Linked DNA regions of Homo sapiens: region 1 is linked to region 2. Evidence: promoter capture Hi-C in 16 types of primary human blood cells and fetal thymus (Javierre and others, 2016). All regions are on one chromosome and are shown on one strand. The core of a region is centred on a gene start or on the middle of the fragment in contact, and the rest is flanking DNA. Distances in the headings are between cores, read along the strand shown. Region 1 holds the start of CHLSN (cholesin). Region 2 holds the start of EIF3B (eukaryotic translation initiation factor 3 subunit B).

Region 1 (7,221 bases), core at 4,054-6,553, 1.2 Mb before region 2:
AAGAGAAACGAACACATCTCCATAAAAATGTGTCCAATGATGTTCACGGCAGTATGTGCCTAATATTCAAGCGGTGGAAACAACCTCCGTGTCTGTGCATCCATGGACGAAGGGGGAAACAAGACGTGGCGTATTCACACAGGGGATACTATTCAGCCACCAGAGGAAATGGGATACTGACATGTGCCACAAGACAATAAACCCAGAAGACACTGTGCCGGGCAGGAGAAGCCAGACGCCCAAGACTCCACACTGCAAAATTCCACTTCTGTGAAAAGCTCAGGATACGCAAATTATACTGACAGAAAGGAGATGAGAGATTATTTAGGGATAGGGCAAGTGGAGGGAAGAGTGGGTGACCACTAAGGGGCACAGGGTTTCTTGTGGCAGAAGGAAAAAGTCTTAAAATTAGATTGTGGTGATGGTTTCACAATCCCTCGATATACTGCAAAAAAAAAAAAAAAAAAAAACTATAATCCCTCTCAAATTATTTACCATAAATTTAAAAATGTAACACCCAAGTGCGGCCAGGCACGGTGGCTCACGCCTGTAATCCCAGCACTTTGGGAGGCTGAGGCAGATGGATCACGAGGTCAGGAGATCAAGACCACCCTGGCTAACACAGTGAAACCCTGTCTCTACTAAAAATACAAAAAAAAAATTAGCCGGGCGTGGTGGCAGGCGCCTGTAGTCCCAACTACTCGGGAGGCTGAGGCAGGAGAATGGCGCGAACACGGGAGGCGGAGATTGCAGTGAGCCGAGATCAAGCCACTGCACTCCAGCCTGGGCGAGAATGAGACTCCATCTCAAAAAAAAAAAAAAACACCCAGGTGCTACTTTACGATAAATAAATAAATAAATGGGAGAAAGATCATTTGCTATAATGTTTGTTGTGAGACAAAATTTAGGCTGGAACACAGTGGCATAATCACAGCTCACTGCAGCCTCGACCACCCAGGCTCAAGCAATCCTCCCAACTCAGCCTCCGGAGTAGCTGGCACTACAGGTGTACACCACCACGTAGCTAACTCTTGTATTTTTTGTGGGAATGGGGTTTCGCCATGTTTCCCAGACTGGTCTCAAACTCCTGAGCTCAAGTGATCCTCCCACCTTGGACTGCTGGGATTGCAGGCGTGAGCCACCACACCTGGCCCCAAAATATATATATATATTTTTTTAATTCGCTGGGCATGGTGGTGCGTGCCTGTAGTCCCAGCTACTTGGGAGGTTGAGGCAGGAGAATCACTTGAGCCTAGGAGTTCAAGGGTGCAGTGAATCACGATCACGCCATGATACTCCAGCCTCGGCGACAGAGTGAGAGACTGTCTCTTAAAAGGGTGGGGGGCAAGGCTGAGCGCAGTGGCTCACACCTGTAATACCAGCACTTTGGGAGGCCGAGGTGGGCAGATCACCTGAAGTCAGGAGTTCGAGACTAGGCTGGCCAATATGGTGAAACCCCATCTCTACTAAAAATACAAAAATTAGCCAGGTGTGGTGGCGTGTGCCTGTAGTCCCAGCTACTCGGGAGGCTGAGGCAGGAGAATCACTTGAAACTATGGAGATTACAGTGAGCCGAGATCGCGCCACTGCACTCCAGCATGGGTAACAGAGTGACACTGTGTCTCTAAATAAATAAATAAATAGGCCGGGTGCGGTGGCTCACGCCTATAATCCCAGCACTTTGGGAGGCCGAGACAGGCAGATCACAAGGTCAGGAGATCGAGACCATCCTGGCTAACATGGTGAAACCCCGTCTCTACTAAAAAATACAAAAAATTAGCTGGGCATAGTGGCGGGTGCCTGTAGTCCCAGCTACTCAGCTACTCGGGAGGCTGAGGCAGGAGAATGATGTGAACCTGGGAGGCGGAGCTTGCAGTGAGCCGAGATCGCACCACTGCACTCCAGCCTGGGCTACAGAGTGAGACTCCTTCTCAAAAATAAATAAATAAATAAATACATAAAGAGTCATCTACCTGCCCTGTCTCTGACTCCTTTCCTTCCCCCATCCCATCAGGCTTTTGCCCCAAACACCCTACCACAATGACACCCACGTGGCTAAATCCCATTGCCAACTCTCAGTATGCAACTTATTTGACCTAACAGCGTTGGACTGTTGATCCTTCCTTCTCTCTTGACAGGCATTTTTCACTTGGCATCCAGCACAGACAGCAGAACTTCTGCTTTTGCTCCCACCTCTTAATCGCCGTGTCCTTGAACACTGAAGGACCCAGGCTTAGTGCTCAGCCTCCTCACTCCCTCGTGATCCCATTCAGTCATGTGGCTTCAAATACCAACTAGACGCTGATGACTTTGTTTCCTCTCTTTACAGTCTCTTATTAACCCTCTCCTTCAACTACACGCCAACTCAACTGTGTATATATATAGCTATAGTTGTATGTATATACATATAGTTATATATATATACATGGTCATATATGTGTACCTAGACATATATACACATATATATACTTGAACTCCTGACCTCTGTTTACACTGTTTATACACATATATCTACATGTGTGTATATATATGTATGTGTATGGCCGGGCACGGTGGCTCACGCCTGTAATCCCAGCACTTTGGGAGGCCGAGGCGGGGAGATCACTTGAGGTCAGGAGTTTGAGACCAGCCTGGCTAACATGGTGAAACCCCATCTTTACTGAAAACACAAAAATTAGCTGGGTGTGCTGGCACCTGCCTGTAAACCCAGCTACTCGGGAGGCTGAGGCAGGAGAATCGTTTGAATACGAGGTGGAGGTTGCAGTGAGCCGAGATCGCGCCACTGCACTCCAGCCTGGACAACAGAGTGAGACTCCACCTCAAAAAGAAATATATATATATATATATATACACAATTTATTTATTTATTTATATAAAATAAATATATAAATATATTTACATAAATATGTATTTATATAAATATATAAAAATATATATGAATATATAAATATATAAGTATATATAAAAATATATATAAGTATATATAAATATATAAGTATATATAAATATATATAAATATATATAAGTATATATAAATATATAAGCATATATAAATATATATATAAAATATATATGTATATATAAATATATGTATAAATATATAAGTATATATAAATATATATAAATATAAGTATATATAAATTTATATAAATGTGTATATAAATATATATACATAAATATATATAAATATATACATAAATATATAAATATATATACATAAATATGTATAAATATACATAATTATAAATATATACACAAATATATAAATATATATAAACATATATAAATATATAAAATATATATAAATATATATAAACATATATAAATATATAAAATATATATAAATATATATAAACATATATAAATATATATAAACATAAATATATAAATATATAAACATATAAATATATATAAACATATATATAAATATATATAAATATATAAACATATATATAAATATATATAAACATATATATAAATATATATAAACATATATATAAATATATATAAACATATATAAACATATATAAATATATAAACATATATAAACATATAAATATATATAAACATATATAAATATATATAAACATATATATGAACATATATAAACATATATAAACATATAAACATAAACATATATAAACATATATAAACATATATAAATATATATAAATATATAAAAATAAATATATATATGCGGATGTGTGTATAAACTGTGTATATATATAACTATATATATAACCATATATATGTACTTATATATATCATCTACACATATATCATCTCAAGCTTAAGAATTCGTAATCAATACCCCTGATCACCCTCCACAAACCTGAGCTTCCTAGTGTTCATCCTCTCCATAAACATCCATCTGATGAGGTTCACATAGTAGCTCAAGCTTAAAACCTTGGTCCATCCATAAATCCTCTCTTTCTCACATACTCGTCCAACCCACCACAAACTCCTGTTGGTTTACCACTGAAATACACCCAGAATGTGACTCCCTTAAGATCCCATAGGTACCCAGTCCAAGCCACCACCTCTCACGATGGCTTTTAAACTCCTAAATCAGATGGTGTGTCACCTCCACTCAAAAAACTTCCCAAGCTGTCCCCTTCCACTTGGAGGGAAAGTCAAGGTCCTTGCCACTTGGTAAGGTCCACACGACTGCCCTGGCCCCTCCTCGCATCTCTGGGAACTCACCTCCTCTTTCTCTCTCTGTTCCCAAATTGGCTGCAGCCACACTGGGCTCCCTGCTGTTTCCCCTGCACCTGCTGTTTCCTCGACCTGGAATGTTCTGGTGCCTCACTCCTCCTCCTGCTTCCTTTCCATTCTCAAAACCCCTGTTCTCATCTTCTCCATGGCACTTACCATCACCTGCTCTGTGCACCTTGTTCATCTGTCTCTCCCCTCCAGAATGGAAGTTCACTAGATCACAGACTTGTCTCCACTTGTTGACAGCTGTAGCCCAATGCCCCGAACAGTGCAGGAGGAACCCAATGAACGTTTTTTAAAAATGAATGAATGAATGACGGAAGGAAGGAAACGGAAAGCATGCTTATGATGGAAAGTGAGGCCAAGCGCGTTGGCTCACTCCTGTAATCCCAGCACTTTGGGAGGCCGAGGCAGGAGGATCCATCGCTTGAGCCCAAGAATTCGAGACCAGCCTGGGTAACATGGTGAGACCCCATTTCTACAAAAAACATTTTTAAAAATTATCCGGGTGTGGTGGCGCGCGCATGTGGTCCCAGCTACTTGGGAGGATGAGGCGGGAGGACGGCTTGAGCCCAGGAGGTGGAGGCTGCAGTGAGCTATGATCACGCCATTGCACTCCAGCCTGGGTGGCACAGCGAGACACTGCCTCAAAAATTGAAAAAGAGAAAGTGGGAGCTGAAAGCCTCGGAGGGCAATCAGGGCGTCTTCAGAGAAAGACAATGAAACCAGAGCCACTGCAAGCCCTGACGGCCTGAAACCTAGGAGCCAGCTGAGTCCCTTCCACTCGCCCGCGCTGAGTTAACCCAGAGGCGGGTGCGGGTGTCGGAGCCCGCGCCGGGACGCACCGGCCGCACCGGCCGCACCAGCCTCCCCAGCACCGCGGACCCCAGGGCCGCCGCCCGGTCGCGCCGCGCCGGGCCTCCGCGCACCCACGTGGAGGGGGCGGAGCCCCGCGGGAGCCCGCCCCGGGGCTCTGGGTCTCCTGGCGCCCTGACCCGCCGGCCACCCCGCCGCCGCCCCACGCGCCTACCTGCGCCCACCTGCGCCCACGTCGCCCACCTAAGCGTGAACAGCTGCGTCGCGGACGCCGCCTTCCGGCAGGGACCCGCGCCCCAGGTAAGCGTTAGTCCCGCCTTCAGGAGTGCGGAGCCTCCCATTGGACGAGGTCTGCGTCCGTCTCTCCGCCGGCTAATGGCAAGCGGCGGCAGCACGGGGGGCGGTTCCAGGACCGGGCGCGGGCTACTGACGCCATCTCTAGAGGCCTAGAGTTGCTTGGAGAGGAGCTGGTTGCCAAGGCAACCCGCCCTGCCCAGAACAAGTGCAGATGACTAGGTTTGGGCCCCGCAGGGCTTGGGGGTCTGGGGTGCAAGCTGCCCCGGCCGGGCTGGCGTCCCGGGGTGGGGCCTCCGCCGAGGGTCCAGGGTATGGAGCTCGGCTCGGAGTCGAAATGGATGAGCTACGGCTATTGGGATCAACAGGGCTAGGACTTAAACTTCGTGCTGAATTTAAAAAATCAGGATAGGTGCTAAAAAATACACAGGGTGGGTAGTGTTATAATAATGCTTGTGTCCGGGAGCGGTGACTCACGCCTGTGATCCCAGCATTTTGGGAGGCCCAGGCGGGCGGATCGCTTGAGCTCAGGAGTTCGAGACCCGCCTGGCCAACATGACGAAACCCCGTAACCCCGTCTCTGCTAAAAATACAAAAATTAGCCAGGCGTGGTGGCAGGTGCCTGTAATCCCAGCTACTCGGGAGGCTGAGGCAGGAAAATCGTTTAAGCCCGGGAGGTGGAGGTTGCAGTGAGCCGAGATCGTGCCACTGCACTCCAGCCTGGGCGACAGAATGAGACTCTGTTTTAAAAAATAAAAAATAAATTAAAAAAATAAAAATTAGCCGGGTATGGTGGCACGTGCCTGTAGTTCCTGATACTCTGGACGCTGAGGTGGGAGGATCGCTGGAGCCTGGGAGATGGAGGCTGCAGTGAGCTATGATCAAGGCACTGCACTCCAGCCTGGGCAACAGAGCCAGACCCCGTCTAAAAAAAAAAAAGAAAAAAAAGCATGCTTTCAAGTCACCCAGTAAGTTAAGTGCTTGGCAGCCGTATCAAGTATGATGTACGTTGCCTCAGGAATCCAAAGGTGACAAGCAAAGAAGGTGCACTCTTCCTTACTGGTAGAAGATTGTATTTGGTTCCTTTTTCTGCATAACAAATTAACCCAACATTTAGCAGCCTAAAAGAACATTTATTTTTTCATGGTATCCGCGGTCAGGAAAGTGGGCGTGGCTAAGCTCTGTGCCTTTGCCTCAAGGGTTCACCAAGTTGTGGTCAAGGTGTCCCCCCAGGGTTGTGGTTTCATCGGAAAGCTTATCTGGAATGATCCACTCCCAAGCTCACACACACGGATATTGTAAGGACTCAGTCCTCCAAGGTCATTAGAGAAGGGCCTCAGCCTTGCTGGCTGCTGCCCAAAGGCCACCCTCAGTTCCTTGGTACATGGGCCTTACCACAAGGAAGCTCACAACACTGCAGCTGGCTTGCCTTAGACGGTGCAAGCACACACAAGAGGAGGCACACACAAGACGCACATCACAGTCTCCTTGCACCCTAATCTCAGAAGTGACTTCCCTAGGCTTTTGCCATATTCTGTTCATTAGAAGTCGGCCGGGTGCGGTGGCTCACACCTGTAATCCCAGCACTTTGGGAGGCTGAGGTGGATGGATCACTTGAAGTCAGGAGTTCAACACCAGCCTGGCCAACGTGGCAAAACTCCATCTCTACTAAAAATACAAAAATTAGCCAGGCATGGTGGCATGTACCTATAATCCCAGCTACTCAGGAGGCTGAGGCATCAGAACCTATTGAACCCGGGAGGCAGAGGTTGCAATGAGCTGAGACCGCGCCACTGCACTCCAGCCTGGGCGACAGAGCAAGACTCCAGCTCAAAAAAAAAAAAAAAAAAAAAGTGAATCATGGCCAGGTGCAGTGACTCAGGCCTGTAATCCCAG
Region 2 (7,000 bases), core at 288-2,787:
GGGAGGATTCTCTTGAGGCTGGAAGGTCCCGATTGCAGCGGCGCTGTGATTATGCCACCGCACTCTAGCCTGGGCAACAGAGCGAGACCCTATCTCTGAAAACAAACAAAACAAAAAAACTATAGGATGAAATATACATAAAATTTACCTTTTTGGCATTTTATTTTATTTTTTCGAAGACAGGGTCTCGCTATGTTGCCCTGACTGGTCTTGAACTCTTGGGCTCAAGTGATCCTCCTGTCTTGGCCTCCCAAAGTACTGGGAAGAGAGGTGTGAGCCACCGCGCAGGGCCTAGCCATTTTAATATGAAGTTTAGTATACAGTTCAGTGGCATCAAGTACATTCACCATGTTGTACCATCACCACCGTCATCTCCAAAACGTTCTCATCCTCCCAAATTGAAGGTCCGTCCCCGATAAACACTCCCCACTCTCCACCCCAGCCTCTGGGTACCACCTGTTTTATTTATTTATTTAATTTTCGTAGAGATGAGGGCTGGCGTGCGGGGGGTGGTGGTGCTATGTTGGCAAGGCTGGTCTCCAACTCCTAAGCTCAAGCGATCTTCCCACCTCAGCCTCCCAAAGTGCTGGGATAACAGGCGTGATCCACTGGGTTGTTTTCTAGGATGATTAAGACATCCCCCAACCAGTGGTTGTCCTCCACTCCGGCAAAAAACAAGATAGAAGCCACATGCACCCAATGCCCGTCCCGTGAGCACCCGCGCAGAGCGAACCGCTCCGGTCCCTCCGGAGTCAGCCTCGAGCTCCACGCGGCGAGGACCCGCCCCCGCCCCCACGTGACCCGCGCTGTCCCGCGCTGAAGGCGGCGGCCTCGGATGGACTGAACCACTGTGAAAGCCCGAATGGGGGGAAACAGGCAGTGACGGCCGCTAGGGAAGGACTGGGGGTAAGCGATTAAAGAAACTTCCATACATTTTTGTATCGCGCCAGGCAGTCGTCCTTCTAGTCGTGTGGGCCCTCTCTGGCTCGCCCCGAATTCCTTTTCTATTTTGAAGTAGTCTGTCCTTTTGCTCAGTCAGTAGGCGAGTCCAAGTGACAGACACGGACAGGGGGGACTTTAGTAACGTAAACTAAACGGTTTCCCTAGCGAAAGGCTCAGACGCCCTGAGCAATCGCCTGTTGAGTCTCCACTCTTCCAGGGTATTAACTGTTGAGTTAGAGGACATTTTCCTAGCATTCCGGGTACTAAAATCATTTCTTGTCCCCGCCTTCAGCTCCACAAATAGTTCAGTCCCGCCCCGCAGCGTCCGACGGGAAAGGAAAGGGGGAGGACGCCATGTTGGACGGAACCATCTGCTGCCACACATGGGGTGGTCAATGCTCCCATGAGTTTACTGATGCACAGAAACAACCTTGCTGAATGGAATTAAGCACTTTCTTGTCACAAATATATCAGTTTGATGATTTTCGGGCGCGGTCTTGTGGATGCGAGTCCTCTCAGGGTCGTTCGTGAGGCCCCAGGGCGTGGGTGCGCCCCCCGCCCCGCGGCCTTGGTGCGGCCTCCCCGTCGCACGCACATGGCTGGGCTGTAGCCGTCGCGGCGCGCGGTGCGGCCTGGGAGAGTCGGAAGCGCGGCGGCCGCGGAGCCCTGCGAGTAGGCAGCGTTGGGCCCATGCAGGACGCGGAGAACGTGGCGGTGCCCGAGGCGGCCGAGGAGCGCGCCGAGCCCGGCCAGCAGCAGCCGGCCGCCGAGCCGCCGCCAGCCGAGGGGCTGCTGCGGCCCGCGGGGCCCGGCGCTCCGGAGGCCGCGGGGACCGAGGCCTCCAGTGAGGAGGTGGGGATCGCGGAGGCCGGGCCGGAGTCCGAGGTGAGGACCGAGCCGGCGGCCGAGGCAGAGGCGGCCTCCGGCCCGTCCGAGTCGCCCTCGCCGCCGGCCGCCGAGGAGCTGCCCGGGTCGCATGCTGAGCCCCCTGTCCCGGCACAGGGCGAGGCCCCAGGAGAGCAGGCTCGGGACGAGCGCTCCGACAGCCGGGCCCAGGCGGTGTCCGAGGACGCGGGAGGAAACGAGGGCAGAGCGGCCGAGGCCGAACCCCGGGCGCTGGAGAACGGCGACGCGGACGAGCCCTCCTTCAGCGACCCCGAGGACTTCGTGGACGACGTGAGCGAGGAAGGTGAGGGCGCCCGGGGCGGGGCTGGCGAGCGGCGCGGGAGCGTGGCTGGGGTTCCCGAGGTGGGAGATATCGTCGGGCTGTGCCACCGGTTCGTGCAGAAGTTCCAGCGAGGGTGTCCGTGTGTTCCTGAGAAGCCACCGAGGGAGGGGTTCCCGAGTGCCCTGGAAGTGTTCTGAGAGCCCAGCGCCTCCCCTTTTCTTTCCTGAAAAAGGGGACAGGGTGGAGCTCACTTCGGGAGCCAGGCATTTGCATGACAACCAGAAATCTGAGAGGGTGGGAGAGGGCACATGGGGTACTCCGTTATGGCTGGGTGTGCTGTGAGTGTAGCAGCTGGGGGTACGGCAAAAACCGAAGACCCGGTGGCAGGTTTGCGGGTCTACGTGTCCCCAGAGCTGACCAGTCAGACCTCCCAAGGTCTGGATCGGAGGAACAGCTTGTGGCAGAGCCGGTGATTTTGTCCTCCTGCCCCTCAGAATTGTCCATCTCCAGAGACTTCCTTAGTGGGACAGGCACCCTGTGAAATTCCAGTTTGATTTTTCTTTATCTCTTGCGCTAAATCTATAAAGAGAGTTATTTTTCCAGGTTTTAATATTGCCGATAACAGCCAGCTTTGCCTTCATCTCAACCTTGATTGGATTTACAGGCATATTTTTGCTTCCTGTCTCAGAGATTTTTTCCTGAAGCTACTTCTGATGAGAGCTGGTCTCATTTGTTTTTCTTTTGTTTTTTAGCTCTCTTAAGCCTTTAAGTTGGGAACACATCAGCCTCTGCAGATTGGCTAAGTTGATACTAGAGTGAGAAAAATAAAAATACCCTTGCTGATGTAGCCAGCGATACACCAGGACAATTTCGGGAATAACATGGAGTTGCCAATTTATGATTTAAACGTATTTTTAAAAGGCTATCAGAGGGCCGGGCTGGGTGGCTCACGCCTGTAATCCCAGCACTTTGGGAGGCCGAGACGGGTGGATCACGAGGTCACCATCCTGGCTAACACGGTGAAACCCCGTCTCTACTAAAAATAAAAAAAAATTAGCCGGGCGTGGTGGCGGGCACCTGGATTTCCCAGCTACTCTGGAGGCTGAGGCAGGAGAATGGTGTGAACCTGGGAGGCGGAGCTTGCAGTGAGCCGAGATCCTGCCACTGCACTCCATCCTGGGCGACAGAGCAAGACTCCGTCTCAAAAAAAAAAAAAAAAGAAAAAGAAAAAAAGGTTATCAGAAATACAAGTCAGCCAGGTGTGCTGGTGCACACCTGTAGTCTCAGGTACTTGGGAGGCTGAGGCACGAGAATCACTTTAACCCAGGAGGTGGAGGTTGCAGTGAGCCTAGATCCCACCACTGCCTGGGCGACAGAGTGAGACCCTGTCTCAAAAAGTGAAAAATTAAAAAATAAAAACGCTGTCAGTTACTGTGACCATTACTATATTACACTTTTTTTTTTCATAAAAGACATTTTAGCATGAAAAGCAGGAAGGACACCACAAACTAAAGACTTTGGGAACATCTAGTCTACGCCCCTCAGTCCTGAGGAAACTTGTCCCTGAAGGTGGAGTAGGCTGCTGAGAATTCCCAGTGGGTCTATACTGCTTGGCCCACCAGACTCTCCTGCTCAGAACAGTGTTCTTTCTAACGCTTCAATTGTTATTATGGTTTAAAAATCAAAACTTTTGGTTTAATGATTATTTTGAGCCCTTGGATATTCTGCTACTTTTTTAAAAAGCATTATTTGAGCCCATCGAATTCACAGATTTCTAATACGTAGATTACTTCTGGAATTGGGAAGAGTCAGAGGATGCTAATATGACGACAGGGTTGGCCAGGCTGGGTGACGGCTGTGGGTCCTCAGCGGGCCCACGTGGCCCTGAAGGTGCAGTGTTGGCCAGAGTGACAGGTGAGGCATCTGGTCCTGAGGACTAAGGCTCAGGAAGCCGACTTTGTCATGGCCCTCCTGGTTGTGGTAACGCAGGTTTTGTGCTTTATGAGAAGAGCTGCCCTTCAGGGTCATTGTGCAAGACCGTAGGTGACTGTATCAGTTCTTTCCAGAAGGGCCAAGTCTTCCAAGGAGCAGGCCAGAGGTGGCCTGGAGTCCCTGTCTTGCTTTATTACTTTTTTGGTACAGATTAGCTTCTCAAACTGTAATCATCCTTTCAGTTTAATGTTTCAGCTGATCCAGGATTTTAACTCTAAATGTCTTTTTTGGCTCATTAACTATTCTTTCTCTTTCTATTTGCTATTTAGTGTTGAGAATTGTTCTCTTCTGTTTTTCCTGGAGACCGCTTGGGAATCCATGAGCCACGTGTAACCGATGCTTGGGCTGAGAGTGATCAAGGCGTTGTGTCTTCATGGTGTAGTTACTTCATTTATTTCCTTCCTACGTGTGGGCAGTTTCTCCTAGACTAGACGCTTTGAGCTTGTGGGAAGGAGTACCCAATTTGTGTAAAAGTTGAGCTTTTTATTGCAGCCTTATAAATTCAGATCAGGCTTGTCAGGCTATTTAATTGTATGGTAAGTGCTTTAGAAGTTACCCTAGGATTTGACTAGTTTCCATAGCAGGGTGTCCGGCACTGCAGTGACTGGCAACTGCCTTTTTCCCTTTTTTTTTCTCTTGTTCGTCTCAATTTTAGCATCGTTGAAAATAAAACGGCGATTATTTTTTAAGGCAGTATTTTCAATATTTCCTTTTTTTTTTTGAGACAGAGTCTCATTCTCTTGCTCAGACTGGAGTGCAATGGCTCACCGCAGCCTCTGCCTCCCCGCTTCAAGCGATTTTCCTGCCTCAGCCTCCCAAGTAGCTGGGATTATAAGCATGTGCCACCATGCCTGGCTACTTTTTGTATTTTTAATACAGATGGGGTTTTGCCTTGTTGGCCAGGCTGGTCTCGAACTCCTGGCCTCATGTGATTTGCCTTCCTTGGCTTCCAAAAATGCTGGGATTACAGGCGTGAGCCACCATGCTGGGTCAGTTTTCAATATTTCCGAAAGTGTTTTTTTGAGACGGAGTCTTGCTCTGTCGCTGGAGTGAGCCACCATGCCCAGCCAACTTTTGAGAATAAATACAGTAAAGAATATTTTCGGACATCTGCATATTTAGTATGTTGGAATTATCATTATTATTATTATTTGAGATGGAGTCTCACTCTGTCTCCCAGGCTGGAGTGCAGTGGCATGATCTTGGCTCACTGCAACCTCCATCTCCTGGGTTCAAGCGATTCTCCTGCCCCAGCCTCTCCAGTAGCTGGAATTACAGGCACCCACCACCATGCTTGGATCATTTTTCTCGTATTTTTATTAGGGACAGGTTTCACCATGTTGGCCAGGCTGGTCTTGAACTCCTGGCCTCAGGTAATCTGCCTGCCTCGGCCTCCCAAAATGCTGGGATTACAGGCGTGAGCCACTGAGCCTGGCCGTGTTCTAAATTCTGACACGTGATGCTTTCCAGCAGCCCTGCGAGGCATTTCATCACATCAAGAACAGCTTCACCTACCACTAAGAAAAAAATACTGTTATTTAATCTCAGTGGGGGTGGCAGCTCCCACCTGTAGTCCCTGCTACTTGGGAGGCTGAGGCAGGAGGATTGCTAGAGCCCAGGAGTTCCAGGCTAGCCTGGGCAGCATAACAAGACCCTGTCTCTTTACAAAGAAAAAAAAAAGTTGTTTCAGGAGCTTGTATATTCTCCAGTCTCCTAGTTTAAGTGCCGGTCTCTGCCCTGATAGTGTTTTTCAAAAAGGCTCTTTGTGATATAATTAAGAAATGTGTATTTGGGCTCTGCCTGGCTCTTGGCACTCAGCGTCTAAACCCTTGTAATTTCCAAAGTGGTAAGTGTCTTTTTGTAGACGAGGACTTGATTGATGGCTGGGGCTCCTTGCCAGGGAACCAACCACGTGATTAGAGGGTGGGACCTTTTAGGTCTCCCCCTGCCACCCAGAAGGAAGAGGGCTGAAAGTTGAGTTGATCACCGGTGCTCAGTGATGTCATTAATCACGCCTCTATAATGAGATCTTCATAGAAACCCAAAAGGACCAGGTTCAGGGGCTCCATGCAGCGGAACAGGTGGAGGCTTCTGCAGGGTGGTGGCCTGGAGAGCACAGGGAGGCTCTGCGCTTCTCCTCCATCTGCCTTTTCGTCTATATCCTCTGTAACGTCCGTTATAATAAGCTGGCAAACCTAGCTCTCTGAATTCTGTAAGCTGCTGCAGTAAATTAATGGAACCCAAGAAGCGAGGGATAGTGGGAGCCCTGCTTTGTAGCCTGTCGGTCAGAACCGGAGGTGACAGCCCACTACTTGCGACTGCCATCTGAAATGGGGGCCAGTCTTTGGGGCTGAGCCTTCAGCCTGTGGGATCTGATGCTAATTCCTGGTAGATAGTGTCTGAATTGGATTAAGTTAGAGGACACCCAGCTGGTGGCCCCTGGAGAACTGCTTGATGCGACACCCACGTCCGGTGTCAGGCGTTGTGTTGAGTGTTACGTGAGTAGGAAAGACACTGTCACATCCCTGTCTCCTGCAGTTCAGTTGTTTATCCTTAGAGCTTTTTAACCTAAGGAATATTGGGTAAAGATTGTTCTGAACGAAGGTGCGTGGTGGTGGGCTCTGCAGCGGAGAGAGGTGGGGAAGCTCACCCCAGACGCGCTTCCTCTTTGGGTTTTTTCCCCATCCCCTGTGAATGGCCATCCAGTTCACGGCCTGAAAACATGAAAATCACTGGGAACAGGAGGTGGGAGAAGAGTTACTACTTTCATCCCAGTTCACTCGAGAGAGGGTTCCTCCTTGAATAATTTCTGGTAATTTGTATTCACAGCACAAATGTGCTGTGAATATATTGAGCATTTAAATATTTACTTGTTTGCTAAAATCTTCTGTAAAAAGT

The links. The method cuts DNA at HindIII sites, captures the fragments that hold promoters and counts their contacts. A CHiCAGO score of 5 or more calls a contact.
Region 1: a contact is called between the fragment with the promoter of CHLSN here and the fragment with the promoter of EIF3B in region 2, in 1 of 17 cell types (neutrophils). The highest score is 5.3, in neutrophils.

What each region holds. Positions count from the first base shown.
Region 1 is chr7:1,132,944-1,140,164 of GRCh38, forward strand. It overlaps CHLSN (cholesin), which reads right to left and starts at 5,304. Exons shown (of 5, transcript NM_001318252.2): 1 at 4,372-5,304. RefSeq lists silencers at 4,864-4,913, 4,924-5,373, 5,574-5,713 and an enhancer at 5,434-5,533. The HindIII fragment of the contact is 2,681 bases long and covers 3,897-6,577 here.
Region 2 is chr7:2,353,290-2,360,289 of GRCh38, forward strand. EIF3B (eukaryotic translation initiation factor 3 subunit B) reads left to right here and starts at 1,538. Exons shown (of 19, transcript NM_001037283.2): 1 at 1,538-2,131. The coding sequence starts at 1,633. It also overlaps a transcript of SNX8 not described here. RefSeq lists enhancers at 329-884, 555-624 and silencers at 1,425-1,564, 1,745-1,834, 1,885-1,994. The HindIII fragment of the contact is 9,918 bases long and covers 1-7,000 here.